Linked DNA regions of Homo sapiens: regions 1, 2, 4 and 5 are each linked to region 3. Evidence: promoter capture Hi-C in human tissues and cell types (Jung and others, 2019). All regions are on one chromosome and are shown on one strand. Each heading gives the region's core, a stretch centred on a gene start or on the middle of the fragment in contact. The rest is flanking DNA. Distances are from core to core; before and after follow the strand shown. Region 1 overlaps LOC124900647 (nascent polypeptide-associated complex subunit alpha, muscle-specific form-like). Region 2 overlaps CPLX1 (complexin 1). Region 3 holds the start of IDUA (alpha-L-iduronidase). Region 4 holds the start of LOC124900163 (chloride intracellular channel protein 6-like). Region 5 overlaps CTBP1 (C-terminal binding protein 1).

The links. The method cuts DNA at HindIII sites, captures the fragments that hold promoters and counts their contacts. A contact is called where the count stands out against the background at its distance.
Region 1: a contact is called between a fragment that was not itself captured here and the fragment with the promoter of IDUA in region 3, in 1 of the 25 tissues and cell types used here (dorsolateral prefrontal cortex).
Region 2: a contact is called between a fragment that was not itself captured here and the fragment with the promoter of IDUA in region 3, in 1 of the 25 tissues and cell types used here (spleen).
Region 4: a fragment that was not itself captured here is called in contact with the fragment with the promoter of IDUA in region 3 in 3 of the 25 tissues and cell types used here (dorsolateral prefrontal cortex, lymphoblastoid cells and spleen).
Region 5: a contact is called between a fragment that was not itself captured here and the fragment with the promoter of IDUA in region 3, in 1 of the 25 tissues and cell types used here (dorsolateral prefrontal cortex).

What each region holds. Positions count from the first base shown.
Region 1 is chr4:1,119,382-1,125,432 of GRCh38, reverse strand. All of the region lies in intron 1 of LOC124900647 (nascent polypeptide-associated complex subunit alpha, muscle-specific form-like), which reads right to left. All of the region lies in intron 1 of LOC105374344 (a long non-coding RNA gene), which reads right to left. It also overlaps the pseudogene TMED11P. Among named protein-coding and RNA genes, the nearest start is that of RNF212, 8.8 kb to the right of the region's middle. The HindIII fragment of the contact is 4,762 bases long and covers 397-5,158 here.
Region 2 is chr4:797,510-803,175 of GRCh38, reverse strand. All of the region lies in intron 2 of CPLX1 (complexin 1), which reads left to right. Among named protein-coding and RNA genes, the nearest start is that of PCGF3-AS1, 18 kb to the right of the region's middle. RefSeq lists enhancers at 3,206-3,705, 3,741-3,940. The HindIII fragment of the contact is 7,050 bases long and covers 412-5,666 here.
Region 3 is chr4:982,732-988,704 of GRCh38, reverse strand. It overlaps IDUA (alpha-L-iduronidase), which reads right to left and starts at 1,661. Exons shown (of 14, transcript NM_000203.5): 1 at 1,463-1,661; 2 at 756-896. The coding sequence starts at 1,620. It overlaps SLC26A1 (solute carrier family 26 member 1), which reads left to right. Exons shown (of 3, transcript NM_022042.4): 3 at 1-1,048. RefSeq lists silencers at 1,195-1,372, 1,155-1,804 and enhancers at 2,015-2,074, 3,250-3,299. The HindIII fragment of the contact is 27,782 bases long and covers 1-5,148 here.
Region 4 is chr4:780,338-786,427 of GRCh38, reverse strand. It overlaps LOC124900163 (chloride intracellular channel protein 6-like), which reads left to right and starts at 4,580. Exons shown (of 2, transcript XM_047416474.1): 1 at 4,580-4,656. It overlaps PCGF3-AS1 (PCGF3 antisense RNA 1), which reads left to right and starts at 4,579. Exons shown (of 3, transcript NR_171661.1): 1 at 4,579-4,656. CPLX1 (complexin 1) reads left to right here. Exons shown (of 4, transcript NM_006651.4): 4 at 1-1,471. RefSeq lists enhancers at 446-1,317, 3,312-4,029, 4,030-4,746, 4,747-5,464 and silencers at 4,291-4,640, 4,741-4,820. The HindIII fragment of the contact is 6,790 bases long and covers 755-6,090 here.
Region 5 is chr4:1,238,173-1,243,814 of GRCh38, reverse strand. It overlaps CTBP1 (C-terminal binding protein 1), which reads left to right. Exons shown (of 10, transcript NM_001012614.2): 2 at 2,296-2,490; 3 at 5,478-5,632. The coding sequence starts at 2,484. Among named protein-coding and RNA genes, the nearest start is that of CTBP1, 8.1 kb to the left of the region's middle. RefSeq lists an enhancer at 3,339-3,839. The HindIII fragment of the contact is 7,049 bases long and covers 868-5,642 here.

The sequences.
Region 1 (6,051 bases), core at 1,528-4,027, 140 kb before region 3:
CCAACATGGCACATGTATACATATGTAACAAACCTGCACGTTGTGCACATGTACCCTAAAACTTAAAGTATAATAATAAAATTAAAAAAATACAATAGTACAGAAACCAACAACTTTTTACAACCTCTACTATAATCACATAGTCTAAGCCACTTAGATTACAATAGTGTCACTGCTTCCACCCTTGACCCTTCTTCATCCTTTTCTCCACATAACAGAAACAATAAGAAACTTAAAAGGAAAGTCACATCATGTCACTTCTCTACCCAATTGCTTCCCCAAATCCTTACAATGGACATCGGGACTCTCTATGATCTGGCCCCTGCTATCTTTTCAACCCCACCTCCTACCATTCTTTCCCTGCTAACCTCACTCCAGCCATTCTGCTGCTCCTTGAATATTCCAAGCATCCTCCTGCCCTCAGGACTTTTGCATATGTCCCTGCACGGAATTTCCTTTCTCCAGATGGAGATAACATAATGTGGTAGTAAGGGAAAAATCACCTCGGTTACTAAAAAGTGTGTGAGTGTATACAGCGGGCCCTCCATATCCACAAATTCTGCATTGGCAGATTCAGCCAAATGCAAATGGAAAATATTTGGGAAAAAATAATAAGAAATAACAATACAAAAATAAAAATACAAATAAAAACCCAATACAGTATAACAACTATTTACACAGCATTTAAGTACTAGGCATTATAAGTAATCTAGTGATTATTTAAAGTATATGGGAGGATGTGCATAGGTTATATGCAAATACTATGCCATTTAGTATAAGGAACTTGCGCATCTGTGGATTTTGGTGTCCTGAGGACATCCTGGAACCAATCCCTCATGGATACTGAGGCACAACTGTATATATGTATAATTTATACGTGTTATCTATATATATTTACATATAACACATTTATTCAGTGCTATGTCAAGCACCATTCTAATGGAGCAATTTACAAACATCTGACTCTTCATGACAATAACCCTACATAGGTAAATACTACTTTTTTTTTCTTTTTGAGACAGAGTCTTCCTCTGTCACCCAGGCTGGAGTGCAGTGGCACGATCTTAGCTCACTGCAGCCTCTGCCTCCCACTTCAAGCGGTTCTCATGCCTCAGCCTCCTGAGTAGCTGAGATTACAGGCATGCGCCACCACGCCCGGCTAGTTTTTGTATATTTAGTAGAGATGAGGTTTCGCGATGTTGGCCAAGCTGGTCTCAAACTCCTGGCCTCAAGTGATCTGCCTGCCTCAGCCTCCCCAAGTGCTGGGATTACAGGCATGAGCCGCCGTGCTCAGCTGGTAAATACTACTTTTATAACGATTTTAGATATAATGAAACTAAAGTATAGAAAAATTAATTTGCCCACATAGCTAGCAAGCAGTAGAGTCAGGATTCAAACCCAGACAGTGTAGTGCCTTTTCTCCCACTTTTATAAAATTTTATAATATTTGTACTTTATAAGCACATATTATAGTTACATAAATCTATACAAGAGTGATGCATGTTAAGTGTTTAGCACAGTGCCTGGCGCATAATATGGGTCCAACAAATGTTACCTGGTTTTCATTCCCACTGTACCTTTCAAGGGCACATGAGGGAAGTTAAGTCATATGATAGCTAACACATACTAATGGGAGATAGCCAGAGACTCCTTCAGATCCAACCTTCAGCAGAAACCTCTGGAGACAATGAAACGAAAGATTTGACATGACTACACTGATATTTTAGCAAGGAATTCTGCTGGAAGTGTATGGGATCAAGTTACAGGAGAAAGAAGTTAAAGCAGGGAGAACTACTGGGGAGGTTTCGGAAAAGGTCCAAGAGTTCCATCTCTTAGTGGCAGCTCACATGGAGTTTACATTCTAGGTGGAAACCTTTCATAGGCTTATTTTCGGCAGTTCTCACAACTGAGATCTGAGAGGGATCTATATTACCCCTATTTTTCTGAATAGGAAATGGAGGCTTGGAGTGGTGAAATAATTTGTCAAGTTACCTAGTAAACGAGAGTGAGAAATGAAGAACTCAAGTCTTCCTCTATACTCCAGAGTCCTCTACTCTGTTAGATACCTAATCACCAAGCTATAGCTGTTCAGACTAAGAGTGTTTTACGATTTAGGTAAACTGAGAAAGATAAATTCATTTAATTTAACAGTAACATCTAATAAACATTATTACTGTTTCTTACATGTTGTAATGTCTTACATTTTTGAAACAGGGACTTTCAAGATACAGCAATGGGACATAGGCAGACATACGTTCCTTGAATCTGCTCCTGGTTTGGGAATGTTTGTGACTATTACAACTTACAATGATGAGGTAAAACATTCTTTTATACTTTGTTACTAAAATTTTTCATTTGCCAGAAATTCAGGCATCATGTAGCCCAGTTTTAAAATCTCTACAGAAGCACTCACTAACCAGAATTAACAATTTTTAATGCATATAGCACTGAATGATAGCATGACATAAAAACATAGAAAGTGCCTGCCCTCAATGAGCCTATAGTTTAGTTGAGAAGCAGAGACAGGCTTCATAATACAAAAAGCTTTTAAAAAATGAAATGAGGATTCCCAGATTTGTCATCTTCAGGTTTGCCGATCTTGCTAGGCAAAAGGGACCTTAAGGCCAAAGCATCCTGTGGTTTTACACCAACCAGGCCCCATCTACTTTGCTGGTGCTGCAGCCCCACCCAAGCACAAGGGTCAGATAAGCCAACTCCTCCCTCCTCCCATTTTGGCATAGGCGTTCTCTAATAATGCAGCAGCCTCTGGGACTGTCTGGTCTTACATACCTCTTACTCACCAGGAGTTAGCAGAGGAGTACAAAAGTCACCAGGAAATGTGGAAAGAATATGGATTTTGGAGTCAGAATCAAACTCAAGCATGGATTGTCACATATAAGCTAAAACCTTGGACGGGTTATTTGACTGCTTTGATGCTGTTTTCTCATATATACAATGGATATAACAGAGATATCCATCCCCCACCATGTAAGCTCAAGACAATGAATTTCTCAGCCCACTAACTCAAATCTAGTCCTGGAGCTGTGCTCATGGGGTAGCAGAATGGTGGTGGACCAAAGACTTGTAGAATAGAATAGGCCTCTTTCTGGCTGGCAAGAAAAGGGTGCTTGAAGTAGGCAGGACAGGACTCCCATTCTCATGAAACTGGATAACTGGTTGGCCCAAGCTCAGGAAGACACTGTGACACCCCCACTTATGTGGAGACAGAGAGCTGTGCTGAAGACTCCAATCCAGTTGGATTTTTGGACACTTGATTTTCACCTGTTCAATAGTTATCTCTCGGCACATTTGGCACCTCACTGACAATAATTCCACTGGGACTGTTTTCCTAGCTCCAGCCACTTGTCAAGACAGCTACCCTCTCCTCCCTACACACCCACATCTATGCTTCTAGCCCATACTTTCTGTTCCTTGTTATATCAAACCCCAATTCTATACTTTCCCAATAATCCTTAATGACCATCTGAAAATGTCTCCAAAGCACATTAAACCCAGAGCCAAATTTTAGTTGGGCCAAAAACTATCACATTAAAACCCATTCACTGTTTTTTTTAAAACACATAGAAGACTCATTCTTTGAAAATCGAAATTGCCTGAAACAACATCTGAACTCTCTATTCTGTTCCATTGATCTATTTGTCTATTCTTTCACCAATATCACACTGTCTTGATTACTGTAGCTTCACAGTAAATCTTAAGGTTGGTTAGTCTCAGTCCTCTTTTATTCTTCTCCCTCAATATTGTGTTGGCTATTGTGGGTCTTCTGTTTCTCCATATAAATATTAGAATCAGCTTGTCAATATTCACAAAATAGTTTGCTAGAATTGTATTGGGATTCTGTTGAATCTATAGAACAAGTTGGGAAGAACTGAGATTTTGACAATAATAAGTCTTCTTATCTATGAACATGGACTTCTCTCCATTTCTTTCACCAGTTTTGTTTTCCTCATATAGGTCTTGCACATATTGTTAGGTTTATAAATAAGTAATTTGAGGGAGCGTGCTAATGTAAATGATACTGTGCTTTTTATTTCACATTCCACTTGTTCATTGTTAGTATATAGGAAAGTGATTCACTTTCTTATATTCATCTTGTATCCTGCAACCTTACTATAATCACTTACTAGTTCTGGCAGTTTGTCAATTCTTTTGGGTTTATACATAAACAGTCATGTCACCTGTGAACAAAGACAGCTTATTTCTTCCTTCCCAAACTCTTTATTTCCTTCTACTGCATTAGCTAGGACTTCCAGTCCACCAAGAAAAGGTTTCTAGTTTCTGACCAGTAAGTGTATTAGCTATAGGTTTTTTGTAGATGTTCTTCATCAAATTAAGTTCCCCTGTATTCCTAGTTTGATGCATTTTTATCATAAATGGGTGTTGGCTGTTGTTAAATGTTTTTTCTGCATCTATTGATATGATGGTATGATTTTTCCTTCTTTCACCTATTGATGTGATGAATTACACTAATTGATTTCTGATGTTAAACCAGTCTTGCATATCTGTAATAAGACCCATTTGGTTGTGGTATATAATTCTTTTTACATATTGTTGGATTTTCATTTGCTAATATTTTGTTAAGGGTTTTTGCATCTATCTTCATGAGATATAATGATCAGTAGTTTTCTTATAATGTCTTTGTCTGGTTTTGGTATTAGGGTAATGCTGGCCTCATAAAATGAATCAGGAAGTATTCCTTCTGTGTCTATCTTCTGGAAGAGATTGTAGAGAACTGGCACAATTTCTTCCTTAAATGTTTGTTAGAATTCACCAGTGAACCCATCTGGGCCTGGTGCTTTCTGCTTTGGAAAGTTTCTATTGATTCAACCTCTTACTAGATATAGGCCTATTCAGACTGCCTACTTCTTGTATTTTATTAGATTGCGTATTTCAAGGAATTGGTCAGTTTCACCTAGGTTATCAAATTTGTGGGCATGGACTTGTTCACAGTATTCCTTTATTATTCTTTTAATGTCCATGGGATTTGTAATGCCCCTTCTTCTGTTTCTAATATTTGTAGTTTGTGTCATCTTCATTTTTTTCTTAGCCTGGCTAGAAGCTTTTAAATCTTTTCTAAGAATCAGCTTTTGGTTTTGTTGATTTTTTTCTATTTCTTGTTTTTAATTGATTTCTGCTATAGTTTTTATTATTTTTCTTCTGCTGCTTACTTTGCATTTAATTTTCTCTTCTTTTTCTCGTTTCCTAAGGTGGAAGCTTAGATTATTAATTTTAGATCTCGTTTTTTAATACAGTCATCCCTTGGTATTTGTGGGGCATTGGTTCCAAGACTCTCCAAAGATACAAAATTCTGAAGATGCTCAAGTCCCTTATATGAAATGGTGTAGTTTGCAGGTAACTAGTACACATCCTCCCATTAATTTAAATCACCTCTAGATTACTTATATCTAATACAATGTAAATGCTGCATCGTTGTTATGCTGTAGTTTTTCACTTGTATTATTTCTGTCACATATATTTTTTTCAAATATTTTCAATCCATGGCTGGTTTAATCCATGGATGTGAAACCTGGCATTATAGACAGCCAACTGTATATGGATTCAATGCTTTCAATTTCCCTCTAGTCACTGCTTTTATTGCATCCCACAAATTTTGGTAAGTTGTAGTTTCATTTTGTCTTGAGATTTCTTCTTTGACCCATGTGTTAATTAGAAGTGTGTTGTTTAATCTCCAAGTATTTTGCGATTTTCCAGCTATCTCTCTGTTACTGATTTCCAGTTTAATTCCATTGAGGCCTGAAAACATACAGTGTATGATTTCTATTATTTTAAATTCTTTAAGGTGTGATATATGGCCCAGAATGTGGTCTATCTTGACGAATGTTCCATGTGAACTTGAGAAAAACGTGTCCTCTGCTATCACTGGATAAAGTAATCATAGGTGTCAATTATCTCCAGTCAACTGATGGTGCCACTGAGTTCAACGATGTCCTTACTAATTTTGGCCTGCAGGATCTGTCCATTTCTGACAGAAGGGGCTGAAAACTCCAACTATAATAAAGTGTTCATCTA
Region 2 (5,666 bases), core at 2,687-5,186, 190 kb after region 3:
TCTGCTTTTCTCTTCATTAATTATCTCTTCCTGTCTTATTTGGGATTATTTTGTTTTGTTTCTTTTAAATTTCTTAAGATGGCAATGAAGTTCCTATACTTTCTGCTCTTCCTTAAAATGAAGGACTATGAATTTCCTCCCAAAAAAAGTTTTAGCCCTGGACCCTAAGTTCAGACGCCTAGTGTTTATCTTTCATGCTTTCTGGAATTTTTTTTTTTTTTTTTTGAGACAGAGTCTCACTCTAATGCTCAGGCTGGAGTACAGTGGCGCAGTCTCGGCTCACCGCAACATCTGCCTCCCGAGTTCAAGCAATTCTCCTGCCTCAGCCTCCTGAGTAGCTGGAATTACAGACATGTGCCATCAAGCCCAGCTAATTTTTGTATCTTTTTTAGTAGAGATGGGGTTTCACGATGTTGGCCAGGCTGGTCTCAAACTCCTGACCTTTTGATCCTCCCACCTTGGCCTCCCAAAGTGCTGGGATTACAGGTGTGAGCCACCACGCCCAGCTGCTTTCTGGAATTTTTACACTTTCAGTTTTTATTTCCTCTTCAGTTGAAGGGTTACTTACGTCCTTGTTTCTAATATTTGGGCTTCCATACTTAGTGATTTGGTCATGTTTTTAGTATTTGTAACTTGATTAGATTATGATCAGGGAAAATGGCCTGTAATATCTCTAGCTTTTAATTTGTTAGGGCTTCTGATCAATTTGATAGTGGTGCAATTTATTTTCAATAACCATTGCCCTCTTAAGGGTACACTCCAATGAGTTTCACCATCACCGTGGTTAAGTCTGCCTGGCCCCAGGCAATCTACATTTTCTTTCTGTCACTGTAGATTAGTTTGCACCCAAATGTACATACATGAAATTAAATAATTTGTATCTGGCCTTTTACACTCAGCATAAAGACTTTGAGATTCTCCCGTGTTGTTTGGTGTATCAGCAATTCATCTGTCTCTGTTGCTAAGTGATGCTACCTGTGTGGACATACCACAGTTTGTCTATTCACCTGTTGATGGACATTTGAGTTGCTTTCTGGTTTTGGCTGTTACAAATGAAACTACCATGAACATTCCTGTTCCTGCCATTGTGTGAACTTAAGTGTTTGTTTCTCTTGGGTAAACACCTAGGAGTGGAATTTCTGGGTCATTTGGTGGCATGTTCAGTTGTACAGGAAAATGCTCAACTGTTGGCAAAGTGGTTGTAGCATTTACCTTCCCACAAGTATGCATGAGTGTTCCAGTTCCTCCACCAGTGTTCCTTGCCAACACTTAGCACAGTCAGTCTTTTTAATTTCAGACATTTGAGTAGGAATGTGGTGGTATCTCTGTGTGATTTAAGTTTGAATTCCCTTATGACTGACACGTCGATCAACTTTATTTGTAACAGCCACGTGTGTCTTTTCGTGCAGTCATGCATCATGTAACGAAAGGGACAAGTTCTGAGGACTGTGTCATTAGGTGACTTTGTTGCTGTGCGAACATCAAAGAGTGCACTGTTGCACACCCAGATGGAGCAACCCTGCACGCCCAGGCTGTTGGGGGTAGCCTGGTGCTCCCGGGCACAACCCTGCACAGCACGTGACTGCCTGAATGGCACGGAAGTTGTAACACAGTGGTGAGTATTTGCGTACCTAAGCACATCTAAACATAGAAAAGGTACCACGTGGTACACCTTACAATGGCTGCGACATCATGTTGCTTTACATGGTCCATGACTATACTTAGTTGCCATCTGTTTCTCTTCTTTGGTGAAATGTCTTTTGTCCACTTTAAAAATCAGGTTGTTTGTGTTCCTGTTATTGAGTTGTAAGAGTTTTTTGTGTATTCTGAATATAAGACTTTTTTTTTTCTTTTGAGACAGAGTCTCGCTCTGTCACCCAGACTGGAGTGCAGTGGCCCGATCTCGGCTCACTGCAACCTCCACCTCCCAGGTTCAAGCAATTCTCCTGCCTCAGCCTCCCTAGTAGCTGGGACTGCAGGCACGTGCCACCACGCCTGCCTAATTTTTGCATTTTTTTTTTTTTTAGTAGAGATGGGGTTTCACCATGTTAGCCAGGCTATTCTCAATCTCCTGACCTCGTGATCTGCCCGCCTCGACTTCCCAAAGTGCTGGGATTACAGGTGTGAGCCACTGCGTCCGGCCAACCTTTTGTTTTTTTGAGACAGAGTCTTGCCTTGTCGCCCAGGCTAGAGTGCAGTGGCACGATCTTGGCTCACTGCAACCTCCACCTCCAGGGTTCAAATAATTCTCCTGCCTCAGCCTCTCAAGTAGCTGGGATTACGGGTGCCCGTCACCATGTCTGGCTAATATATATATATATATATACATATATATACACACACACACACATATATTTATATATACATACGTGTGTGTATGTATATACACATATATGTGTCTGTGTGTGTATATGTGTGTGTATATATATATATATATATATTTTTTTTTTTAGTAGAGACGGGGTTTCCCCATTTTGCCCAGGCTGGTCTCGAACTCCTGACCTCAAGTCATCTGCCCGCCTTGGCCTCCCAAAGTGCTGGGATTACGGTTGCCCGTCACCATGTCTGGCTAATATATATATATATACATATATATACACACACACACACATATATTTATATATACATACATGTGTGTGTATGTATATACACATATATGTGTCTGTGTGTGTATATGTGTGTGTATATATATATATATTTTTTAGTAGAGATGGGATTTCCCCATTTTGCCCAGGCTGGTCTCGAACTCCTGACCTCAATTCATCTGCCCGCCTTGGCCTCCCAAAGTGCTGGGATTACAGGCGTGAGCCACTGCGCCCGGCCTAAGATCTTTATCAGATGTGTGGTTTGCAAATATATTCTCTCAGCCTGTGGTGTACCTTTTCATTTTTTAAGACAGTGTCTTTTGAAGATGTTAAGAAAAACTCAAACTGTTTTTCCCTTTGCCCTCACTCCACAAGGATAATCAACACAGAAGATGTCTGTGACCAAATGTATGAAGGTTTTCCCCACCCACCAAGCAAGCAGTCAGTCCGGCAGTGGACAACAGCAGGGTGTTCTCCAATTCAATTCCATTCTGATGCTGTCTACCTGGAGACAGCCTCAGAAACCCCACGTTGAGGGCTCAGTCCCACAAGGCTGCCCCCTCCATCCCACCAGTCGCAAGTCCAGGACCCTAGAATGTCTGAACGACCGGCTTCGAGTTGGGGTTCATGCGACCCCTCTTGGGTTTAATTCCTAGAGCAACTCACAGAATTCAGGGAAACATATGCCTATGGTTTATTACAGAGGATCTTTTTATTTTTTATTTTTTGAGACGGAGCCTGCCTCTGTCGCTCAGGCTAAAGTACAATGGTGCAATCTCGGCTCACTGCAACCTCTGCCTCCTGGGTTCAAGCAATTCTTGTGCCTCAGCCTACTGAGTAGCTGGGATTACAGGCACATGCCACCATGCCTGGATAATTTTTGTATTTTTAGTAGAGACGGGGTTTCACCATGTTGACTGGGCTGGTCTCGAACTCCAGACCTCAGGTGATCCGCCCATCTCGGCCTCCCAAAGTGCTGGGATTACAGGTGTGAGCCACCATGCCCAGCCTACAGAGGATATTTTCAAGGATACACATAGCCAGATGAAGAGACACATGGCCAGGCCTGAAGGGTCCCAAGGATAGGAGCTTCCACCCTGTGGAGTTGGGGTGCCACCCTTCTGAGGAGCTTCCACCCCGTGGAGCTGGGGTGCTACCCTCCTGGCACGTGGATGAGTTCTTCGCCTTCCTTCCAGCCTCCATGTGCCCAGCTCTCTGGAAGCTCCTGAACCCCGCCTCTTGAGGAGACTCCATCGGATAGGCATGGTGGAAGAAGCATGGACGTCCCCGTAGAAATGCGACCGATGAAAAGGGTGTGATCTAAACCCAGCAAGGCCTGTCCAGATTCCTCTTGGCCTCTCTCTGTAGCGTTCCTTCCTCCAGGGCACGGGGCAGGGCCCCTTCTGAAATGAGGGCTTATGACTCACCAACAGGAAGTCAGGGGAAGATTTGAGTCCTGCCCTGCACAGGTGAAAAGAGGGCAGAAGGTCAGAGAGAGGGGTTCTGTTTCCTGATTCTAAAGGGCCCCAACATTATAACAAGGGCCATGGGAGTGAGAGGCAGGAGCCATAGATGAAAACATATATATATATCTCATAATATCGCAGAAGAGCAAAAATGTTTAATGTTGATGAAATTCAGTTTATCAATTTTTCTTTTTAAGATTTATGCTTTTGTCACTTATATAAGAAATCTTTGCTTAAGCCAAAGTCCCAGAAATTTTCTCTTCTGTTTTCTTCTAGAAGTTGTATAATTTCAGCTTTGACATTTAGATCTATGATTGATTGTGAGTTCATTTTTATATAAAGTGTCAGGTAAAGGAAAACATTTACATATGTGTTTATTTTGCACATGGATATTGAATTGAGCCAGTGCGCTTCTGAAAGCACTATCTGGCCGGGCACAGTGGCTCACGCCTGCAATCCCAGCACTTCGGGAGGCTGAGGCAGGCAAATCACTTGAGCCCAGGAGTTCGAGACCAACCTGGGCAACATAGTGAGACCTTGTCTCTACAAAAAATGTTTTTAAAAAATTAGCTGGGCATGGTGGCACATGGGAGGCTGAGGTGGGAGGATCAGTTGAGCCCAGGAAGTTGAGACTGCAGTGAGCTATGATTGAGCCTCTGCATTGCAGCCTGGGCAACGGAGCAAGACCCTGTCTAAGAAAAGAAAACAGAAGTAAGGACTATCCTCACCCTCATTGAATTCCCTCTGCAGCTCTGTCAAAAATCGATTGACAATATATGTATGGGTCTATTTCTGGACTTTCTATACTTTCCATTGATCTAGATGTCTGTTCTTTTTTTTTTTTTTTTTTTTGAGACGGAGTCTCACTGTCACCCAGGCTGGAGTTCAGTGGTGCCATCTCGGCTCACTGCAACCTCCACCTCTTGGGTTCAAGTGATTCTCCTGACTCAGCCTCTCAAGTAGCTGGGATTACAGGCACACGCCACCACACCCAGCTAATTTTTGCATTTTTAGTAGAAACGGGGTTTCACCATGTCCATCAGGCTTGTCTTGAACTCCTGAGCTCAGGTGATCCACCCACCTCGGCCTCCCAAAGTACTGGAATTACAGGCGTGAGCCACTGTGCCTGGCCTATATGTCTGTTCTTTTGTTTATACCATAGTGCCTTGATTATAGTAAGTCTTTTTGTTTTTTTGAGACGGAGTCTCGCTCTGTTGCCCAGGCTGGAGTCCAGTGGCGCGATCTTGGCTCACTGCAAGCTCCGCCTCCCGGGTTCACACCATTCTGCCTCAGCCTCCCGAGTAGCTGGGACTACAGGCGCCCGCCACCATGCCCGGCTACTTTTTTGTATTTTTAGTAGAGACGGGGTCTCATTGTGTTAGCCAGGATGGTCTCGATCTCCTGACCTCGTGATCCGCCGGTCTTGGCCTCCCAAAGTGCTGGGATTACAGGCGTGAGCCACCGCGCCCGGCCTACAGTAAGTCTTAAAGTCAGGTTGTGGCCAGGCTCAGTGGCTCACGCTTGTAATCCCAGCACTTTGGGAGGCCGAGGCGGGTGGATCAGGAGGTCAAGAGTTCGAGAACAGCCTGACCAACACGGTGAAACCCCGTCTCTA
Region 3 (5,973 bases), core at 412-2,911:
TGGGGAAACCGGGGAACCCCAACTGGGAAAGGAGGCCCTCTGATCACACGCAGGACCCAAACACTCAGAAATCAAGAACCTCTGCCTCCGAGACAGGCTGGCCCACAGTGCTGGCTGGGCCCCAATGCACCGTCCCTCAGCTCAGGAGGGATGGGCCTGACCTGACGCTCAGGGTTGACATCTTATTTGAACAAGGGTCCCCCGCCATCATGCAGCCTCCAAGGTGCCAAGAGGACTCCCTATGCCCAGGCCTGCCCGGTGCCCACCCTGCTGGTAGGAGCCAGCGGCTCTGGCCAAGTGCACGAGGGTCTCTGTGTTTCCAGAAGGCCCCACACACCCAAGTGCCCCTCACACCTCGTGCCTCCCCCTCACAGGGTGGCCACCTGCACCAGCGTCAGGGCCCAGGGTGCTGTGACCGATGAGACCTCAGCTCAGCCCTCAGGTGCAGTGGCCCTACCCAGCCTGGCCAGCAGACACACACAGGGATGCTCACGGGTGCACCAGGAGCCAGGTGCGGCGCAGCCAACCCTGAGCCTGCAGGGAGACCTGCAGGAAGCCCACCGTGCCCCATGCAGGGGCTCCCTCCAGCACACAGCCCTCACCCCAGCACAGCCAGCAAGGACACGCTCTCCCCAACAGGGTGCTTCGGCGGGAGGTGGGGGAACAAGGGGTCTTCCGAGCAGCCCCCAGCCCTCCCCTCCCATCTGTGCCTCTGTAAGGGGCTCTGGGACGCCCAGACCCTGCCCGCCGCCCACCTGGTGGTGACAAGCTCCAGCAGCCAGTGGGTCCGGACCTGCTTGATGCCGCGGTGAGGGACGGCGCCCACATAGGCGAGGTTGAGCTGCTGGTCCCAGCTGAGGACGTACTGGTCAGCCTGGCTGTGTGGCAGCGGGGGGCTGGGGACAACAAAGGGGCGGCTCAGTCCCGAGCCTCAGCATGGCTGGCAGCGCGGCTGACACACACGTTCAAGCCCAGGACTGCCCGGGCGCAGGATCCAGGCGCTGCCCGTGCGTTCAGTGACTAATAAAATGACCCTTAGGGCCAGGAATGTGGGGAGGTCCCATCTTCATGGGGAACGGCAGCAGCAGTAAGACGAGGGGCCAACGCCAGCCCTGGCCCTGGCCCTGCCAGGAAGGCGGGTACCTCAGCTCTAGGTGGAAGGAATGGGACAGGCAGGCCAGGTCCCGCTGCAGGGCCGTCCACTCCCAGGGGAGACTCCTGGTTTACCTCAAAGAGCAGGATCCCGGGCATCGGCCTGGGCTGCAGGGGGCGGCCCAGGCTCACGCCCCGGCGCCCACTCAGGTGGAGGACCCACCCACAAACACGGCGGGGGGCGGGCCCGGGAGAGCCAGGGCCCCAGAGGAGGGAGCTCCGGTCTCTGAAGCTCTCACAGTGCGCAGTCAGGGGGCGCCCGAGCTCTCCCCGTGCGGCCAGGGGGTCCCGGAGGCCGCGGAGCGCTCACCAGAAGCCTGTGCTCCTCCAGAAGCGCCGCAGGGGCCACAGCGCGCGGGCCGCGTCCACATGCACCAGGTGCGGGGCCTCGGCCGGGGCCACCGGGGGCGCGGCCAGGAGCGAGGCCAGGAGCGCCAGCAGCGCGGCGCGGGGGCGCAGGGGACGCATGGCCACGCGTGCTCGGGGACTGCGGGGCTTCGGGCTGCACTGCCGGTTCCGCCTCCGGGTCGGAGTCTGGGCGCGCACCCCATGTGACCGCCGCCGCGGGGCGGGGCCTTGGTGAGGGGGCGATGGCCGGGTGGGAGGGGTTGGGTGGCCTCGGGGAGCCTCGGGGAGCCGGGAGCACGGCAGGGCTTGGAGCCCCGCTTCCTTGCGGGCCTCAGGGGCTGCTCTGAGGACCGATGACTCGGAAAGCGCTCAGAAGAACGCTTCGCCCGTTGGTGCTATGTGAGTTGAGCCATTACTGTCTTGTTTTTCTCTGTTTTTGTGTGTTTTTGAGACAGAGTCTTGCTTTGTCGCCCAGGCTGAGGTGCAGTGGCGCGATCTCAGCTCACTGCAACCTCCATCTCCGGGGCTTCAGCGATTTTCTCACCCCAGCCTCCTGAGTAAAGCGTGCGCTTTAGCAGGAAGGAGAATTACCCCAGAAGAGCACACTGGGCCCTCCTTACACTTGGCTTCAGATCCATGGATTCAACCAAGCAGACTGAAAATATTGTTTTAAAGCCAAAGCAATACGAAATAATACATATTTTAAAACAATACAGTATAACAGCTATTTACAGAGCATTTACATTGTTTTAGGGACTATAAGTAATCTTGATTTAAACTACACAGTAGGATGTGCGTAGGTAATGTGCAAATACTGTGCCATTTTATATCAAGTACTTGAGCACCTGCAAATTTTGGTATCTGGGAGGGTCCTGGAACCAATACCCCGAGGATACCATGGGACAACTGTAGTACATGTGTAGTCCATGTATGCATGTGTGAATCCAAGCAAACATTGTATAAAAATAATAATGGAAAGAACAGGCTTGGTGCGGTGGCTCACACCTGCAATCCCAGCACTTTGGAATTGCAGGCCAACACGGGAGGATCACTTGAGGCCTGGAGTTTGAAATCGGCCTGGGAGATGTACCAAGACCCCATCTGTACAAAAAAAAAATTTAGCCAGATGCGATGGTATATGCCTGTGAGGCCCAGCTACCCACGAAATTGAGGTGGGAGATTGCTTGAGCTTAGGAGTTCAAGGCTGAGACGGGCCATGATCACACCACTACATTCCAGCCTGGTTGACAAAATGAGACCCCATCTCTAAAAAAAGAAAAGAAAAAAAGAACAGTCTACTAACAAAACGAAAATACTGGACAATAATCCTCTCTAAGTTGGGAGAAGGATAATTAGAGTTACAGTGTTCTGGGTCTTTTTATTTTGGGGAGAGGGGTTAAAATATTGCTTAACATTAGGTCTTCTTATGTTGAAATTGCATTAAAAGTGATTAGCCATTTAAAAGTGAAATAGTGTGTATATATTCCAAATTAGCAAGGAGGAAAAACATAATACAAAAAAATTCATTAAGAAACTAAAAAGTAAGAAAGGGAGGGAAAGGCGAGAGAAACCATGCAAGTACAGAACTGTCTCCAGGAACAGCGGGGTAAGACCCTCAGTCCAACGACCCCAGAGAAAACAACTAAAATGATGGATAACTCGCTTTAAAAACAATTCCTCAAAGCGTCAGAGAACTGAGAAAAACAGTAAGAAACCACCAGTCCCACACCGTGGTGCAGGACACAGCAATGGAAACTGAATTGTTTCAGACCAGCCGCCTCCTGAGAGCAACCATCAGAACTGGAGAGCGCTGAACGGAACCGTCCAGGGCACTGGGAGCTCTGAGGAGCCTCTGAGGCCTCGGGGCTCTGCAGGGACAAGCCGGGAGGGGGCGGGGCCCGCTTTGGGGCGGCGACTCCACACCCCTGCAGCGTATCCCAGCCACACAAGACATGGCGACACGCTGCTGCGTTCGTTCCTCACACTGTGGCCACAGGACAGAAGTCGAGGCTCAGGCGGGGGGCCTGGTAAAGACTTTGGGTTTTTCTTGGGACCCCAAAGTTCTATCCCCTAAAAGCAAAGGTAAACCAGCAACAGAATTGTCTTTGTGGGGACTGAAGCCAGCCTTAAATCACCTCAAGCCCTGAGAGAATTAAGGTGAGCCGCTCACCGGGACACCTGTGGACAGAAAAGTACACCTTCCCTGGAGGAAGGTAAAACAAAACAAAAACAGACAGAAGTCCTCACTGCACGGTGCTGGAATGGATCCGGGTCAGGAAAAATTATTACAAAGTGCATGATGGGGACATTCACAATTTGGAATATGCCTTGTACATTGTGCAACAAAATTCTACCAATGATAAACTCCAGAATTTTTTTTGTTTTTGTTTTTTGTTTTTTTAAACGAAGTCTCACTCTGTTGTCCAGGCTGGAGTGCAGTGGTGCGATCTCAGCTCATTGCAACCTCTGCCTCAGCCTCCTGAGTAGCTGGGATTACAGGCATGAGCCACCACGCCCAGCCAATTTTTGTATTTTCAGTAGAGACAGCGTTTTACCATCCTGGCCAGGCTGGTCTCGACCTCCTGACCTCGAATGATCCACCTGTCTCGGCCTCCCAAAGTGCTGGGATTATAGGCATGAGCCACCGCGCTGGGTCAAACTCCAGAATTATTAAACGACTCAATGATTGCATCACGGTTGTGAATGGAGATTTTTTGTTCATTTGTGATCCATGCTGAAGGGTTTAGAGGTGAAGAATCAATAGATTTGTAACCAAAGTTGCTCTGGAAATTAAAGCAAAACAATAAATTTAGATTACATACAGAGACTGAGATAAAAGCAAAGGTAGCAAAATATTAACAGTTGGTGAACCTGGGTGAAAACTATATACTGTTATTGCAACTTTTCTGTGAGTTTGAAATTTTTCAAAATGAAAACATTGAAAAAAATATTAAAACCTCATGAAACTTAGTAAAAATTTATTGAATGATACACTTGAACTTGCTTCATTTTATTGTATGTAAATCATATCTCAGTAAAGCTGATAACGAATTGGTTTAACAGCAAATTAAATCCAACTAGGCTGAGCAAGGTGGCTCATGCCTGTAATCCCAGCACTTTGGGAGGCTGAGGCGGGCAGATCACCTGAGGTCAGGAGTTCGAGACCAGCCTGGCCAACATGGTGAAACCCTGTCTCTACCAAAAATACAAAAATTAGCCGGGCGTGGTGGCATGCGTCTGTAATCCCAGCTACTCAGGAGGCTGAGGCAGGAGAATTGCTTTAACCTGGGAGGCAGAGGCTGCAGTGAACCAAGATCACGTCACTGCACTCCAGCCTGGGCAACAGAGTGAGACCCTGTTTCAAAAAGAAAAGACAAAATTAAATGGTGTTCTTCAAGTAGAAAGAATGATGTCCCAAATCCCAGCTCAGAGGTGCAGAGGAAGAAGTGAAGAGTGCGGGGGGAAGGGAAAACCTCCCCTGCCTTTCTGAAGTTTCACTAAAAGGGTACACAGATTTCTTGGATTGTAGTTTTATGTGACACAGCAGCTTTCAGAGCAAAGACCTAAAGGCGCAGGGGAAACCACATTTTTATACTCAGGTTCTGTGAATCTGGAAATAGGATTGGACGAAAGGTTAAGACCTGACAGGCTAACAGACTCCTGGGGGAGCCCAGCGAGGCCCATCTGCTTCGGTTCCTGGAGGCCTCTCTCTGCAGCTCTCCCTCCTGCTGGGTGGGGGCACAACGCCCCGGAATAGGGGTCTGACCACATACAGTCAAACAAGGCAGGCCAGAGAATTCCTTTATGGCCAGTTTTTACACAGAAAGACAGAGAAAAGTTATTAGAGTCATACTTTTAGGTTTATGGCTGGCTTTGGGGAAAAGGGGCTTAGGTTTCTACGACCTGCCTGGGACAATGAGGGGCCAGAGACAGGAGGCAGGAGAAGGCCTGGCTTCCAAGGCCTTCACTCTGGGTGACATTTTCTGAACCCCAACAAAAGCAACAGAAACGGTATATTGTGTATAAACCTAATGAATCGTAACCGCATAAAACAATCATGTTACAGGGTTTCACATATTTCTGGGGAATTAGGATTTACAGCAAGAGTGGCACAGGTGCTGTATGGGAAAAGTGAAGTGAGAGGGGAGGAGAGCCTCCTGAAGACGCCCTCCGTCCTGTCCAGGCCCGCGCCTGTCGCCTCACATGGCGAGCGCCTGCAGGCATGGTTCCGTGAAGCATCCAAGACGTAGAGATGATTCTAGTTATCCGAGTGGGCCCTGAGTGTAATCCCAGTGTTCCTATACAGGGGAGACGGAGGGGGGTTTGACACAGAGGAGGCTGTAACGGCCTCAGGAGAGATTGAAAGATTGTTCTAAAATGTGTCCCCAGGGTTTATTTCAGTGAGGTGTGGGGAGACACACGGACCCGGCCACGACAGGCCAGGAGGAAGGCCTTGCTGTGTGTAGAGACGTG
Region 4 (6,090 bases), core at 2,900-5,399, 200 kb after region 3:
ACGAGCAGAGCGCAGCCCCCACGCCGATATAAGCCATAGCCCCAGGCCCGCCCTGCCCGCGCCCGCCGCCTCCCTCACCCGGCAAGGGGCGCGCGCCCCCAGGACCCCCCCAGTCCGCCCCGTGCTCCTCTGCCCGCGGGTGGCTGGAGCCCCATCGCCTGGGACGCCCCTTTCTCTTGCTGTTTACCGCCCACCCAGCAGCGCCCGAGGCCAGGGCCGCCGAAGGGCAGCCCCGCGACCACCCCTGTGCGCGCGTTCGCGGCGGTGGGCGCCTGTCGGGCCCGCACTCAGGAGCACAGCCATAGCAGACGGGGGGCTGCGGGCGGGGCGAGGGCGGCGGGGCCTGGGTCCCCCTCCTGCACGCGGACTCCGGGGTTCGGATCGCTCCGCCGTGAGTATTTGCGTCCGCACGCGGCCGCTCTCCGCCCCCCGGCCTGGCCCCCTCGCGCCCCTGTCCATCCGTCTCTGTCCGCGTCCTTTCCTCTCCTCTCTGGAAGGTTTTGCTTCTTACGAACGCCACGGCCGTGTTCACTTCTAAACTAAAGGAAACAAAGCAATAGGTTTGGGGGACGCCCAGCCCCCACCCCCGTCACCCCGCTCTTCCCAAGTCCTCGCCCCCCGCCCGGCCTCCTAGCCTCTCCGCCCACGCGGCTGCTGCTTCTCCCTGGGGAGGACCCCTGCCCTCGGCCATTGAACACTGCACCCTCCACAGGAGCCGCAGAGGCCCGAGGCACCGGACGCTGGAGACCCTGCGCCCCTGCCCAGCACCTCCTCCGTGGGCAGCTCCTCGGGTGGGGCCTGCGGGGTTCCCTGCGCGCAGCTGGCGCGTGTGTGGCCTAATCCACCTGGTGGCCCTGCGGGGCGGCATCCGAGCCCCTGTTTCTCCTCCATTCATGTTTAATTTGCATCACAATTTGTTGAATCTCAGGTAAATGAGGTCTTTGCATTTAATGAGTTTTATCTTGACAGGCGCCGCCTCGCCCCCGGGCCCTTTCGTCCACATCAAAAATGCATCAAGTCTCCACGTGTTTCGGGCCAGGGCGTGGCTTGGCATTGACCTTCATGACCTTACATAGCTTTAGAGAAGCCATAACGTTAGACTGCAATACTAACGACCGACGCCCCTCCGGGCAGAGACCACCGCGCCCCTCTGCGCCCCAGCGACGCGGCCCGCGGGGACGTCGCTGTCCGTCCTGCTCGCCCTGTGCCCTCTCACTGACTTCTCCCGGGTCGTGTCTTTTAAAAACTCCTGTTTTCACACCTTACAAAGCCAGCTCTGAGCAGACAGGGCGTCCTCTCGTAGAACCTGCGCACCCCGTTCCCAGCGCATGGCGCCCCGGGCCGCGAGCTTAGCTTAGACCGTGGTGTCCTCTGTCCGTCTGTCCTGCGCCTGCGCCTCCTCCTGCATGTCGGGGCCCCTGCGTGTGTTCTCTCCGGATGGAATCACAGCCAATAAACACCAGTGATTTCACACCGTGTGGCCATTCCTTCCAGAGGTCCATTTCGCCAGCCGGAGGACCGGGGCTTTCCCCCGCGCATGTTCTCTCCACGGCGGCTGCAGGGCCTCCCACCATTCTCACTCAGCTCCATCCAGTCAGACCCATTTTCCCTAGGCCGTCCAGCCAGCGCAACCTCCATCTAAACACAAACCTGCGCCTTCAGGGTCTCCCGCCCCCCAGGGTGGTTCTTCCACCCGCAAAGCATCTGCCCTCTGCTCTCCCTCCCACCTAGGACCCCCGACCACAGGCCTGTCCCTCTCCTCAGCTCCACCGGGCCCAGGGCCCCAGGTCACCCTGTGCTGCCCTTACCTCGGCCCACCCAGGAATTCCTGCCCCCCAGCACCCCCGTGGGACTGTCCCTCCTCCTGAGTCCTGGACCCGGATCCCTGCAGGGAAATGTCTGCCAACCTGGGCTGAGGCCAGAAGAGGTTCCTGACCCCAACCCAGAGAACAGCCCCTCTGCCTGGTTGCTGGCGGTCCCGCCCACACTCAATCCGCTGGATGCGCAGCCCACGCCTAGCTGCTGCCTGCCACTTGCTTCCCCAGAAAGTCCTTGTTTGACCTCCAAGTTTGGAAGCTGTTAAAAGATGATTCTGGCCAGGTGCGGTGGTTCAGGCCAGGTGCGGTGGTTCAGGCCGGGCGCGGTGGCTCACGCCTGTCATCCCAGCACTTTGGGAGGACGAGGTGAGCGGATCACGAGGTCAGGAGATGGAGACTATTCTGGCTAACAAGGTGAAACCCCATTAATACTAAAACTACAAAAAAAAAAAAAAAAAAGCTGGGTGAGGTGGCAAGCAACTGTAGTCCTAGCTACTCGGGAGGCTGAGGCAGGAGAATCGCCTTGAACCTGGGAGTCAGAGGTTGCAGTGAGCCGAGATGACACCACTGCACTCCAGCCTGGGCGACAGAGCGAGACTCCCTCTCAAAAAAAAAAAAAGAAAAAAGAAAAGAAAAGATGGTCCCGTGACACTTGTTACAGCTGAGTGAGGAAGGCTTTATTCAGGACCAGCACTACAGGTACAGGGACCATGCAACAGGGCTTGCCATGGGTGCCAAGGAGCAGGGTGGGCTCAGTGGATGGAAAATGACTGAGGAACATCAGGGGTTGGGGGATTCTGATGAAACCCATCTAACTGGATTCTAGCTGGAGACAGGCAGGGCAATCAGACAGACCCATAGGGTGGTGAAGCATGAGGACCCCAATCAGATCTCCAGGATGAAGGTTTGTTGCTAAACTGACTTAGCCAGATTCTTTGCTAAAACTGCATTTTACAAGGAAGTGGGCCAATGGGCCTACCAGAAGATTCAGGAAGTTAACTAAAGTTTGACCACACAAAAAATCTTTGTCAGGAGCCCTCTCTAGGGAGCAGCATGTCTGGGTCTCCTGTAACCTTCCTGATGCTGCTGGCTGGGAATGCCCCAGGGAGCTGCCCAGTCCCAGGGCAGGAGGGCCCCATGTGCCCTGACCCCAGGCCGGGCCCTCCTGGATGCCAGGTGGGAGCTGGGAGGGAACGTGCTCTCCTCCAAGCCCAGGGAAGGGTGTATCCAGCTCCTCCTCCTGCTGCCTCTGGGGAAGTGTGCACCCCAGGCACCACCAAATTGCCCAGGGTGATCTCTCCTCTGCCAGCTGGCCCCCCTTCCTCCTGGAACAGAAACTCAGTGTCTTTGCACCCACCCCTGTGTCCGTGGCTGCTGCCAGCTGCCCCTCAACAGGGCACCCCAACATCCAGCCACTGCTCAGCCTCCATCCTCCCCCAGCCTCCCATTTCCCATCCACAGCCTGGTCTGGACCCCCTTGCAAGCCTAAGCAGCGACTTGGACGTGCCAGGTCACGACCCAGGCAGCTTTCCCTTGGAGTCTTTTTTTTTTGAGACAGAGTCTCTCTCTGTCCCCCAGGATGGAGTGCAGTGGTGCGATCTCGGCTCACTGCAAGCTCCGCTCCCAAGTTCACACCATTCTCCTGCCTCAGCCTCCCGAGTAGCTGGGACTACAGGCACCCGCCACCACGCCCGGCTAATTTTTTGTATTTTTAGTAGAGACGGGGTTTCACCGTGTTAGCCAGGATGGTCTGGATCTCCTGACCTGGTGATCCGCCCGCCTCGGCCTTCCGAAGTGCTGGGATTTCAGGCGTGAGCCACCGCACCCGGCTCCCTTGGAGTCTAGACGAGCCCTTCCTACAGCAATGAATGCTGGGTCAGACCTGAGCTTCTCCGGGATCCAGCTCTCATCTCAGGTGACGGGGTCTGAGGCCTCCTGGGAATGGCACTCCTCCCCAGATGTTTACTGAGCCCCTGTGATATGCGCTGCTCTGTTCTAGGGGCTGGGAATACTAGTCCCTCCCTCCTGGAACTGGTTTTCCTAGTGATGGAGGACAGATGATAAACATGGAAGTGGCGGTGTTTGCCCTGGAGGAAAATCAAGCAGGACAGGGAGCAGAGAGCAATGGTTAGGGTTACTATTTCATGAGTGGTCAGGGGGCCTCTCTGTCAGAGTGACGTGCACAGACCCGGAGGGAGGCGCGTGTCCCGTGGGAGAGCATTCTGGGCAGAGAACAGCCATTCGAGAGCCAGGAGGCAGCGCTGCCTGGGTGCCACCAGCGTGGCCCTGGCCCCATGCACTGGCTGGGCACCACCCTGCCCCCGGAGTCTCCTCCTTCTGAACGTTTGACTGTATCTTGAACACAGCGGGGCCGGCTTTCAAGCTCCAGACACGGCCTCCTCCCCAGGCCAGGAAGCCCTGTCAGGCAGCAGATCCGGCCCCCTCAGCAGATCGGCCCCTCCAGAAGACCCGCCCCTCACAGCAGATCCGGCCTTCCCAGCAGACCCGCCCCCCGAGTAGATCCGCCCCTCCAGGATATCCATCTCCCCAGCAGATCCGTCCTCTCCAGCAGAACCGCCCCCAGCGGAGCCGCTCGGGCGGGGCCTCCGGGCCTGGGGAAGGGAGCGGGGACCGGGCCGTGGAAGGACCGCGCCCGCCCCTGGCCAGCCTGAGCCAATCAGCGCATGCTAGGTGGGCCGACATGATTGGCTCCTAGAGGCTCACGTGTGGAGGCCTGACCAATCAGAGCCCGAGAGACGCCATTGCAAGCCTCTGCAGAGGCGCTGGAGCTGGGTCAGTCCGCCGCTCACCCCGCGGCCGCACCTTCCCGCCTTCTCAGGTAACTAAGTGCGGGTCTCGGGCCTGGCAGAAGCTTCTTCGGCCCCGTGCCCTCGCCTGGCCCCGCCCCGTCGGTTGTGTGCTTGTCTCGTCCTGCCCCCAGGCCCTGCCGGTCCCCACCGTTAGGCCGGCGTCCCTGCCCGGCCCCGCTGCGGGCTGGCGCCAGCTCAGGAGGACGCCCCGAAGCCGAGGCCTCGGAAGCAGGTTTTTCCCAGACCTTCTCCTGTCCCGCGTTCCCCCTAGGCCGGCCGTAGGGACCAGACCCCACCCTAAGCCCATAGCCGGCCTTCGCGCTCCGGGTGACCCTGGCTGGCCCTGTTTGTCTGTGGGTCCTGGGATGCGCCACTCCCGGCAGGAAGGGGCGCCGCCGAGGCCCGGTCTCAGCCTGGAACCCCGCTCCTGCCGTCGGGGCGCTTTCTGCGGCTGCCCACACACGACCCCAGGCAAGGGGTGGGGGCGCGGGACCCTCCATGACATGGCGGCGGGGCGCTCTCACTTCTTTGAAACCAGCGTAAACTGGACCCGCCCCACCTCCCATACCTTGGGGGAGCCCCGGGAAAGGCTGTGGCCTGGGGGTCTGCAGGGCGTTGGCAGTGGAGGTGGGGAGAGACCCCAGCCCTTTCCTGTCCCCCCCACCAGCCTTGCCTTCCTCGCCGTGAGCCGGGGACAGTGGAGGGGAGTCAGGGAGGGCCCACCAGATGGACTTTCTTGTGACTCATCCTATAAAGCCCCTCGGGCTTAGCCACCCTCCCCAGGACCCGTGTGGTCTCCCGGACTGTGCTGGAAGCTTAGAGCCAGAATGACTTTTCCACCCTCGGGCTGGCTGGCTCAGTGGGCAGCAGGGACAGGGGGCTGTGAAGAGAAAACTCACTCGCCAGGGTCAGGGGCCGCTTGCTCACTGAGGAAAGCAGAGGGGTTCCTGCCGCTTGCCTCAGGAACAAAGCTAGTTGGTGAGGCACTGCCTTGCAGTTGTAGGAGAGGAATAATGGCCCCCGTGGGTGCTTGGTTGGAACGATTAAAGGAGAATAACAGTTTAGCACGATTATTTCACACAGTTGTTCAAAGAGATGGCTTTGAATTCCAGCTTACATGGCGTCTTCAACAAAAAGTAATTGTTTAGAGAAGTGACAAGATGAAGGAGGACTCTGAGTCCTAGTCTCCCTCCTCGAGTCCCTGTGTGAGCAGAGGTAAACAATGAAAACTCACCAACCAGGAGAAATTCACCTAGGACTGGCGCAGAAGGTATACACCATGAGCCTGGAAATGATTTAAAAAACAACACAGGCTGGGCGCGGTGGCTCACACCTATAATCCCAGCACTTTGGGAGGCAGAGGCGGGCGGATCACTTGAGGTTTGCGAGTTGGAAACCAGTCTGACCAACGTGGAGAAACCCCGTCTTTACTAAAAATACAAAATTAGCCAGGTGTGGTGGCG
Region 5 (5,642 bases), core at 3,143-5,642, 250 kb before region 3:
GGGTCCTGGATTTGGACAGCACAGGCCCCTCTGGGAGCCGTGTGCCTTCACCTCGGAGTGTGTGGGCAAGGTACAGAGCTGGAGCCCTTGACCCTGACCGGCCAGCCAGGAAGGCCGTAGGAGGCCAGCTCCCTGGCGTGAGGTGCGCAGGGCCTCTGGCATTGCCCTAGGTGAGGGCTCCAGGACTCGGACACTGGCTCTCAGTGGGGCAGGTGTGGCCCGGCAGGGGGCGCTTTGTGGGTGCACAGTGGCCCCAGGGTGGTGCAGATGGTGGGCAGACCTACCCCAGGGCTGTTTCTGAGACAGAGGTCCCTGGAGGAGAACCAGGTGCTGGGCCTCAGGTGTCTGTCCTGAACTGGAGCAGCCTTGGAACAAGGAACCACAGGAAGTCCCTGTGGCATGGGGTGCAGCCCCTCAGGTCTGGCAGGGCTAGCCCAGGGAGTGCAGGGCCCCAGGAGCCCTGCCACAGGTTCCTCAGCTCGGGAGCTCACGGCCTCCTCACTGCAGGGTCCTTTCAGGAGGGCCAGGGTGGCCTTCACACATCTGCTTCTTCCTCAGAGACACAGGTGTGGGCACGTACTGGCCAGTATAGATAAGCATTGAGCAGCATTGATGGGTATCGATGATCCTCCAGGAGCAGCGGCTGGTGCCATGCTGCTGTGGGCAGTATTGAGTATTGGCCGGTCTTGACGAGCAGCAGCCGGTACTGGGCCACCGTGGGTAGCATTGATGAGTATTGACTGGTATCAATGAGTATCAGCCGGTATCAATGAGTATTGGCCCGTATCAATGAGTTTGGCCAGTATTGATGAGTATTGGCTGGCATTGATGAGTATCGGTTGGCGTTGATGAGTATCGGCTGGCATTGATGAGTATCGGCTGGCGTTGATGAGTATCGGCTGGCATTGATGAGTTTGGCTGGGCGTGGGTGGCGCGGTGCCTTGCCCCCTGGCCAGGCTGGCTCGTGGGTGAAATGTGACATTTAGGCGGTTTTCTCCTGTCCTTTTAGTTTGTTTTTATGTGGTATCCGGGTACCATGGGGAGATCTGGCATTCAGGGCAGGAGGCTGCAGCGCAGGTCATGGGGGCTCAGGCGCAGGTGATGGGGATCCCGCTCCACAGTGTTGCTCTTGGGCCCTCCGTCAGGGAGTCCCACACAGCACCTGCCATGAGGAGTGGTGTTGGGGACCCTGGATGGGAGGTGCGTGCGTGGGGCTGCACCCCAGCCCCTGTGATGGTGTCTCTGGAAGCTGGAGATGGTCGGCATGTATGCTTGAATCCTGCAGAGGGAGTTGAGGGTTGGAGATTTGTCTGCGAGGCCTCTGCGCAGGGGCGGCCTCACAGCACACTACCAGGGTCTTAGGCTTGGCTGAGTGGCCCCTTCTGGCCTGGCAGGCAGTCGTCTCAGCCCACGCCTGCCATGCTGCTGGGCTGGTGGTGGCCGGCTCCTGTCCTGGTCAGCCTGATGTCAGCTGCACGTTGGGGTCAGCCTCGGTGCTGTGTCTTCATGCCAGAGCAGGGGCCAGGTGTGGGCAGCTCAGTGACACCCTCCCGAGGGCTGGGCGATCGTGTGCACTCTCAAGCCTCTACTGGAAGGCTTGGCCCTCTCAGGGGCCCCCTGCCCCTGTGCATTCAGCCACTGGGGTTCGTGCCCTCAGCTTCCCGCCAGGCCCTGGCCGTAGCGGTCAGGAAGAGCTGAGCAGTTTTTTTGGGAGAATTGAGGGAGCGTCGCCAGGATGCACTGAGGGTCGGAGGTGGAGCCGGCGCGGCTCAGTGCAGGCAGTGCCAGGCTGGATGCTGGAAAGCCAGCAGCACCTCTCCCGGTGGCTCCTGGGAAGTTCCACGTCCTTGCCTGGTCACAGAGGCCCGGGAATCAGTGACATGAGATAGAAGCTTCCAGAACAGGAGGCAGAGCCTTTCCGCAGTTTCCCTGCCCACAGCACACACCCTGTGCCCTCCGTCCCCTGGTTCTTGGACACTGGGGACATCTGGATGCGGCTAGAGCCTGTGGGGGTGGCCGCAGCCCTGGGGGACTGTTCCCAGGAGTAGGCCTCGGGGCCACAGGGGCGCGGCCTCGGGCCTGGCACTGCAACCTCAGGGTGAGCGCCCTTCGTGTGTGCGGCAGGAGCCGGGGCCCCTGGCTGTCAGCAGGCCCCCGAGTCCAGGTAGGTCCCAGACAGCAGTCCCGGGTGTGGCAGATGCAGTGAGGTCCACTTCTGAGGCGTTCCCTGGAGTCTGTGAGTTCTGGTCGGACCTTCGATGGCATTTTAATGTGTCTCTTGTGTTTGATTTTTAGTAAGACTTTGACCCCGACGCAGGCTTCAGTGATTGCCGCGGATCAGAAGCCTGAGCACTTTGGCTCGAGACAATTAAGGACGTGGGATGAGGCTCCGAGACAGGACGCGGTTCTGCCTGGGGATCCTGAAGATAAAAAGCTTTGAAAAGTCGAATTCATGGTCGTGGAAGCTGAGCCCATATTAAGAGATGTCAGGTTGGTAGGGGTTCCTGGCGTCGGCGGCAGAGTGAAGCCGGCCGGTCTCTTTGCGACCGTGTGGAGGAGGCACTGCCTCGGATCAAGTCGAGGGACCTGGGCTGCATGGGCGTCGGGCCGGACTGCTGCCACCTGACCCCCGGTGTGCTCTGGGCGAGGTCAGGTGCCCCTCGAGGGAGGGCTTCCTGCACACCTGGTGGCAGAGCACAGCTGTGGTCAGGCCTGTCCGTGGCATCTGCTGTCTGTTTCTGTCGGAAAGTGTCTGAGAGGCACGGAGGGCCTCCATGTGGAGGCCGCCAGCACGAGGGTGGAGCCCCACACGGAACCCTGGAAATCTCAGGTGTCCACCCGGCTGGCCCAGGAGCAGGGCCGTGGCCCCTGTGGAGCTGTTCCTTGTGGTTGGTCTGCGCTCTCTGGCCCGGAAGTGCGTGCAGTCGGAAACAGCCTTGGGCTTGGGGGATGCTGCAAAGCCTGCTTCAGCACAGGCCGTGTGACTGTGAAGCCTCCTGGGTGTGTCCCCAAGCCTGCAAGGGTGGGCTGTCCGGGGAACCCTGGCACGGTGGTCAGGGGCAGCTCATGGGTGATGTGAGGAGGCACCTTGGGTGCCTGAGCCTGATGGGGCTTGGTGTCTCCACCTGCTCCCCCCTCCCCACCGTTCAGCTGAGGGACCCGGTTCCCACTCACCCAGCACCCGGGAGTCCCCCACGCGGTTCCGACGAGGGACCCGGTTCCCACTCACCCAGCACCCGGGAGTCCCCCACGCGGTTCCGACGAGGGACCCGGTTCCCACTCACCCAGCACCCGGGAGTCCCCCACGCGGTTCCGACGAGGGACCCGGTTCCCACTCACCCAGCACCCGGGAGTCCCCCACGCGGTTCCGACGAGGGACCCGGTTCCCACTCACCCAGCACCCGGGAGTCCCCCACGCGGTTCCGACGAGGGACCCGGTTCCCACTCACCCAGCACCCGGGAGTCCCCCACGCGGTTCCGACGAGGGACCCGGTTCCCACTCACCCAGCACCCGGGAGTCCCCCCAGGCGGTTCCGACGAGGGACCCGGTCCCACTCACCCAGCACCCGGGAGTGCCCCACACGGTTCCGACGAGGGACCCGGTTCCCACTCACCCAGCACCCGGGAGTCCCCCACGCGGTTCTGACGAGGGACCCGGTTCCCACTCACCCAGCACCCAGGAGTCCCCCCAGGCGGTTCTGACGCAGCCGAGCGGTCTGCAGTGATCCCGTGTGTCCATGCCTTCCTCATCAGAAGTGAAATCCAAGGATACTGAGAGCGGATGTCTATCCACTCACTCAGAAACAGCAACATAAACCTTTCTGCTCATGAGAAGTCATCACCACCACACACAGCGGGGAGGGAGGCCACGTGCAGAGGGAGGCCATGTACAGTGTCACTGGGCGGCCTGTCTATGGTGCTCGTGGGCAGCTCCCGTCCAGAGGGAATGAAGGAACAGGCGAACCAGGACGCGGTTTTGACCGTGCAGACCTCACGTTTGGGATCTGGTTTCCTATCTTGAAGGAAAGTGGGTGGAATGGCCAGTGGCTCCTCCGAGGACGCCAGGGCGCGAGGACCTCACGGGAGGGGCATGGGCCCAGCCGTACTGGGAGCCCTCGGCTTTGGGGTGGTCAGTGGAGACCCATGCCCCGTCCCCTGCAGGCGTGTGCTGCAGGCCCACTGCACCCCTGGGCTGTCCACCAGAGCATTTCTTTTCTCTGCCATGGGTTCCAGGAGGCACTTCCCTGCTTCCTGGATACTGGCAGCTCGGTGGCCTCTGCTCACCTGCAGGCGGATGGGGCAGCGGATGGGGCGGGAGACTGGGCCGAGCGTGCTTGTGGCCGCGGCCACTGGAGAGCCTGCTGGGTCACTCTGCTCCTTGGTTCTGTCGTGCGCCTCCCCTCCTGCTGGCCGAACGGTCCTGGGTACTGCTTGGTCTCCTGTGGCCGGTCTTTGGAGGAGGAGGGGAGGGACCGGCTGGGCCCTGGCCCCAGCTCCGCCTCTGCCCAGCTGCCGTGGGGCTGACAGTGGCCCCACCTGGTGCTCCCTGCCTGGCACGGGGCGGTCGGGCGGTGCCTGGAAGCTGCCATGCTTCTGTGACGCCTCAGAGCCCTTATTTCTCCAGTTGGCCCCGATGAGGCTTAGTTGCGTCATACGCGAAAGGAATGGGTGTTAATGAGCTTTAATCATCTGGTTCTGGGAAGGTCAGGGGCACAGAGTGGACTTTAACAGGTTTTAACCCTTTTCTTCCTTTGTTCTGTTTCTTTTCTCTTCACATCTATAATTGGAAGTAATGCCAGGCAGAGGGTTGGGGGCGTCCTACGTGAAACACTGGTGACCCCATCAGGGATTCCGGGCAGCCACGCGGTAGCCCAGGCAGGAAAGGGACAACCATGTTCCCAAAGTCCCGTGCTGTCATCTTGTGTCCTCCAGTGTCCTGGGTCCCTCCTGTCCCCCTGCCTCATGGAGCTGCCCTGGGGTCTCGGACGGTCTGGGAGGGTCTCGGGGGGTCTCAGAGGGTCTTGGAGGGCCTAGGAGGGTCGGGAGGTGTCTCGGTGGGTCTGGAAATGTCTTGGGGAGTCTCAGAGGGTCTGGGAGGTTCTCAGAGGGTCTGGAGATTTCTTGGGGGGTCTCGGAGGGTCTTGGAGGGTGTGAGAGGGTCTCAGAGGGTCTGGGAGGATCTCGGAGGGGCCTTGGAGGGTCTCGGAGGGGACTTGGAGGGTCTCGGAGGTCCTGTGCCCAAGGGAGATGGTAGTGGGTGTCCACAGTCTGTGTCCACTTGAGTCAGCGAGCTGAGGCACACACGAGTTGTCTTTCACGTGGATTTTTAATTTACTTTTTACAAATATCACAACATATAGACCAGAAAACCCCCGGCGGTCGGCCCTCGTTGGCCCGTGCACAGTGGGTGGCGTGGAGTGGGTTGTAGCCACGGGGCCGCAGTGGTGCAAGGCTGAGCACTTGCCTCTGTCTTGCAGGCGTCCGACCTCCGATCATGAACGGGCCCCTGCACCCGCGGCCCCTGGTGGCATTGCTGGATGGCCGGGACTGCACAGTGGAGATGCCCATCCTGAAGGACGTGGCCACTGTGGCCTTCTGCGACGCGCAGTCCACGCAGGAGATCCATGAGAAGGTACCACCAC